2 separate regions of the Homo sapiens genome follow, and region 1 is linked to region 2. The links are contacts of gene promoters, found by promoter capture Hi-C in human tissues and cell types (Jung and others, 2019). All regions are on one chromosome and are shown on one strand. The core of a region is centred on a gene start or on the middle of the fragment in contact, and the rest is flanking DNA. Distances in the headings are between cores, read along the strand shown. Region 1 overlaps PPP1R12B (protein phosphatase 1 regulatory subunit 12B). Region 2 holds the start of LGR6 (leucine rich repeat containing G protein-coupled receptor 6).

Region 1 (2,700 bases), core at 82-2,581, 250 kb before region 2:
GGACCATCTTTTGGCTGGTTTTAGGATTACCTGTTCTCCTTTTCTTCAATATCACTTGTGCTGTTGAGCTTCCGGGGTGCTAGTGAACTAATATAGCTTTTGTTTTCTCTCTCCTGTAAAATAAAAACAAGTAAAGCACAAGAAAGGTACAATACTGGCACAGCATAAAACATTTTGAGTAAAAAAGCAGAACTTAATATACCTATATCATCTTATTTCTGGATCCAACACTAATTCTATTTTGAGTGGTATTTACAAAAGGTTAGCTTTCAAAAGCTTATTCCTAACTTTCTTCCATTAAAAAACAGTATGAAGGGAAATAATTCTCATGGGAAAGTCAGGATGAGTAAATAAAGAAAACAGCAGCACAAATTATGCAAAGCAGCACCTCTGTCAAGAGAGGAGGAAAGCCTTTGAAGACACAAACAGAAAGCTCCACTCTAATATTCTTGATGAAATAAGATTTATGTAGTCCCCAATAGTCCCCAGTACATCTTTTCCTTGAAATACAGCTTCCTTAGGAATATGTACAATAGTATGCTGCAGAGTTAATTCAACCAATATGCCTCATCTCTTTCAGTAGTCTCCAGAGATATAAAGCAAGAGGACTGTGATTACAAGGAAGATGTGACCCCAGAGAAAAGCACAAAGAGAGTCCTATAAAATCTGGAACTAAAAAGTGAAGAAAATAAAAATTTACTAATCTTGAATGAATACACAAACTATGTGTGAAGTTAGCCTAACCACATTTTCCATATTAATGAAAGAATGACAAGTTAAAAATTTTTTTTTTCTAAGTACTAATTTGCCTGAGCTTAATTTGGACTCAAAGCCCAGAGAACCTCTTAGGCCATACTGAATTTTTTTTTTTTTTTGCAGGGTAGGAGGCTTTATTACACTGTGGCAGGAAGTGAGCCTAGACAGTGTGGGGCAAGCAGGGCAGGAGGGGCTGTCCCCAAACCTGTTGAGGAGAAACTGAGGCTGGCCCCAGTGGAGACCTAGCCCAGCAGGAGAAGGGGAGTGGGGAGGAAAGTGGGTCTGAAGGAATGAGGTCCCCCTCACTCTGCGCATTCCTCCTAGAGGGCCTCAGTCCCTCCTGCTGGCTGGGCTGCACAACCCCCAGTCCTTGCTGCCTCCAACTTGGAGAAGGGGGCCGGACCAGGAAGGGCAGTGGACAGGGAGCCTGGGGGAGTTATGGAGCACAGGGCAGGGTCCATGGTGTACAGAGGGGGTGGCGGCCACCTGGGTGGTCAGTTCCTGGCAGGAGTGACCACAGAGAGCGCCACACCCCCCAAGGCAACAGCAGTCGCCCCAAACAGCCACTTCCATGGGCTGGACCAGGCACCCTTGCCGGGGCACTTGGCGGGCAGCCAGCTGGGGTCGCCCAGCATTTTCCAGTACAGGGCGGTCTCCGTGCTCCGCTGTGCCGCGTGCTTCTTCACCAGCTTCAAGAGTTCTGCGTGGATCGTCTTGTTGGAAGGTTCCAGCTTCAGGGCTGCCCTCAGGATGGAGATGGCCTCACTGTACTCACCCTGCTGGGCCAGTATCTTGCCTCTGTGGAGGACAGCCTTGATATTGTCTGGATGGTGCTCCAACGAGGCTGCAGGAGCACAGGGCTGCGCAGTAGTGGTCGAGCTTCAGCTGCGAGGCCGCCAGGTTGTTCAGACACTTCACCTTCAACTACAGGAGCTGCTCCTCCTCCTCGAACGTCATGTCCACTTTGGCGCTGGAGGTGATGGTCTTGATGGCAAGGTCATAGGAGTTGGCGGCCAGGATGAAGTCCGCCCACTGGTAGTGGGCACTGCCGCACTCCTGCTTCCGGTTGGCCAGGGCCATGCGCTCCTGCCCTGTGAGCATCTCCAGGTCAGGCCAGTCCACGGCCGTCTTCGGGGTCACCTCCAGGCACAGGGCCGCGTGCGGTGGATGTATGGGCTCCTGCCCTGGGGGCTATAGCAGTAGATGGAGTCAGCAGTGACCATGGCCGTCTCCCCCACGTCCGTGAGTTAGACACTAAGATCCAGGGCCTGGATGACGTCACAGTTGTTCAAGGTGAACACCAGCTCCCACATGCTGTTCTCTCACGACGTCTGCAAAATGCACGGTAACCACCTGGCCCTTGACTGGGCGGCTTGAACCCGGCGGCCCTGGGACAAGCGTCTTCTTCCTCAACAGCTGCTTCCGGGGCCAGGGACGGGGCGGGCTCAGGCTCCATGGCAGCGAGGAACTCTAGGGCCAATGTCCCAGGCTGTTCAGCCTCTTCCACCGGGGGCTGTCCCATGCCCAGCGGGGGCAGCTCTTTCAGGTCATCTTCCTCCTCGCCCTCTGCATCCTCCACCCCATCCAGCACCTTGAAGTCCTCAAGCGGTGGGACCCTGGCAGGAGGCGGGGGCAGAGGGCTTAGAGGGTTCAGCACACGAAGCCATGCCGCTGGGGGGACGGGAATTGGCCCTCTGGATCCAGGACCCCTACCTGGGGTCCTGTGCCCCCCTCCGCCATACTGAAATTTTTATGTTGCTGATCCATTTTTTGCTTTAGGTAAGGGGGCAAGGAAGATTGAACAAACCAAAAGGAAAAGCTATTTTTAAAGCTTTTTTATTTTCTTTTTTGGTCAAGCAAACAATAGCAAGCAAATAGCTACTTGAATAAACTATCAGTGTGCCTCTCTCTCTTTAAAGACTTTGCATTTCCAAAATCAACTTA
Region 2 (2,700 bases), core at 153-2,652:
AGCCCTCAGCAGAAGGCCCCACCAGGCTTTCCCACCTGCTCCCAGCTCCTCTGAGGAAGTTGATAGAGCCTGCAGAGCTGGGCTGGAGGAGGTTTCCTTGCCCCAGAGCGGGGCTGGGGGTGCAGGTGGGTGGCCTGGAATGTGCTCTCTCACCCTCCTCCTGCCCAGGTGGTGAGCAGCCAGAGCCCCCAGCCCTCCAGCTCTGAGGGGAAGCTCCCATGAGCCAGACAGACAGGACAGCTGCCCCCAGTAGGGTCCCCTTCACGCGCCATCTCACCCCAACTCAGACGCTAAAAATGGTTCTCTGGTTTTCAGCCTCGGCGCCTGCCCACAAATTAGTGTCTCCAACACAGCCTCTTGGGACATGACTTTAGGGAGGCCCCTGGGGGAGCCAGGAGGCCCCAGTGAAGGGAGATGGTGCTGGCAGAGTCCCTTTCTGAGGAGACAAGAGTGGATAAGGCCCCCCTCCCAGCTTCTAGGAAACCCGCCCCCCCCGCCCCCACGAAGGCCACCCAGCCTCAGTGTGACAGCCCTGTTGTCCTCACCATGGCAGAAGAACAGACATTATTTCCACCCTACTGGGGCACGCTCCCCTCACCTCCACCTCCAGTTCTGTCAGCTTTACCCTCAGCCACCATCCCGGGCACTGCTCTGCTAGAAGAGAATGCAGCAACAGGAGATGGAGCAGCCAGCCCCGCGCCCTCCCGCTCAGGGTCCAGAACCCACCTCGCCAAGCCTGGGCTCCCATAGTCAGCCCACAAGCACGGAGGCCAATGGGGAAGCCAAGTCAGGGAAGCCCGGTCTCCCTGCTCGCCTGGTATTTAGTCTCAGACTCTTCTCCCCTCCCCAGTCCCGCAACGGTCAACTTGGAAGGGGGCAAACCCTCTCCGGGATGCCCATGCCCCAGGGCACCAAGCAAGCAGGTGCCCTGCTGAGGCCGGGACTGGGCGCTAGCCAGCAGCCCGCAGGACCAGGCGGGGACAGGCGGGCAGTACTCACAGGTAAGCCGTCAGGGGGTCCAGGTCCCCCGGAACGGCGGACAGCCCGAGCTCAGAGCAGTCGGCAGACAGCATGATGCCGTCCTCCTGGCAGTGGCAGGGGGCCGGGCAGGCGGTGGGCCCCGGGCCGGGCTGGGGGGCGCCGCCGGCCCTCCGGGAAGCGCACAGCGCGGCGCAAAGCCATAGCGCCCGGAGCCCCGGCGGGCTGGGCATCTCGGCGGTCGGGCTACTGGGGCACCTGGCGGCCGGGCGCGGACGCACGGCGCGATGGCCGCAGCTGCTTCCTCCCGGTCCCGGCGGGCTGCACCGTCGGTGGGGACCGCCCCAGGGGCTCTATTGGGCGGCGGCGGCGGCGGTGGGAGCGCCGGGACGGTGCAGTCAGAGAGGGGCAGGCATTGTTGAGTGATCTTCGTTATTCAGTTTCACAGGCTGGGCTTGGCAAGGGAGGGAGACCCAGCCGGAGGAGGAGTCAAGGAAACTTTCTACACTGCGGCTCGCTCCTCTTCCCTCCTTCCTTCGGAGCTGGCAGGAATTTCATCCAGGAAAGAAAAAAAAAAAAGGAAGAAAGCAAAGAAACCCAAGCGAGCAAAGCTCAGCCCGTCAGAGACCTGCATTTGTTTGGATAGGGTGTCCCAGGGCCTTGGCCGCAGGGCTGGGGACCCTCTTGCCTTTGGGGACAGCCACGAGGTCACATGGGACCCAGAGGAGGTCTCTGAAAGAGGCCTTGGGGCTCCCATTGCCCCTCATGCCTCCACCACGTTTCACACTGCAGGAAACTGAGACCCAAGAGGCAAAATGATTTGTTCAAGGTGACACAGCTGATGGGACATCCCCAGAGCTGGAACTCGTCCACCCTCCCTGGCCTGTCTGCTAGGACAGGAGAGAGGGGAGTGAGGGGCTACCCTGGAAGAGGCCAGGCTGCGGAGGGTTCCACTGCAGGCTGGGATGACCCGACGGTGGGCAACCAGGAGCAGTCTCCTCACTGAGAGGCCGGGCCTTGACTCCAAAGAAACGGGTGTGGAGTTACACCCGCTGAGTGCACCCTGGGTGGAAATGCACTCCTGCAGCCTCTGTCAGGTTTACGGCCTGGGGACCACCTTGATCCCTGCTCCCAGGACCTCGGGAGTCTGAGGGACTGTGGGCAGCTCAGCTGGTTGTCAGAGCCCACCTCAAAGTAAGCGGATTGGTGCCACCTGGAGGCCGGGTGCTGCACCTGCAGCTCAGCCACCCTGAGGCTGGAATCCCACCAAGTGGCTGACCTGGGCCGGCCCCAGAGCCCTGGAGAGCAAAGGGCATGGTGGTTAAAACTGAGGTCAATCCCTGTTCTCTCCTTAGACCATAGTGAGCTGGCTGTGCTTCCTTCATGCAGCCTCTTGCTCTCTCTGGTCTCTCCCATGCTGAGCCAAGCCCCCGCGCAGAGCTAGAGCAGGCTGTGGGCCCCCCTCCTTCCTTTTTTTGCCCTATCTCCCCATGGTCCAGCCAGAGGGTATACTAGAAACCTGGGACCTCAGAGGCATCCAGGATTTCTTCCACCCTGTCTTTCCACATGCCAGGATCCTCTCATCAACACCTCTCCACTCTCCCAATAACCTCCCAGGGCTAGAGGGGCTGCATAGCTGGACCAAGAAATGAGCAGACCTTGACCCTAGGCCTCCAGTTGGTGCCATGGCGCTGAAAGTAGAAGACGAGCCTCCGCTCTCGC

Evidence for each region. The method cuts DNA at HindIII sites, captures the fragments that hold promoters and counts their contacts. A contact is called where the count stands out against the background at its distance.
Region 1: a fragment that was not itself captured here is called in contact with the fragment with the promoter of LGR6 in region 2 in 3 of the 25 tissues and cell types used here (IMR-90 fibroblasts, aorta and heart right ventricle).

What each region holds. Positions count from the first base shown.
Region 1 is chr1:202,438,119-202,440,818 of GRCh38, reverse strand. It overlaps PPP1R12B (protein phosphatase 1 regulatory subunit 12B), which reads right to left. Exons shown (of 24, transcript NM_002481.4): 11 at 31-113. It also overlaps the pseudogene LOC100420423. Among named protein-coding and RNA genes, the nearest start is that of PPP1R12B, 91 kb to the right of the region's middle. The HindIII fragment of the contact is 5,580 bases long and covers 1-2,700 here.
Region 2 is chr1:202,192,501-202,195,200 of GRCh38, reverse strand. It overlaps LGR6 (leucine rich repeat containing G protein-coupled receptor 6), which reads right to left and starts at 1,402. Exons shown (of 18, transcript NM_001017403.2): 1 at 1,000-1,402. The coding sequence starts at 1,211. RefSeq lists enhancers at 2,269-2,318, 2,013-2,700. The HindIII fragment of the contact is 27,919 bases long and covers 1-2,700 here.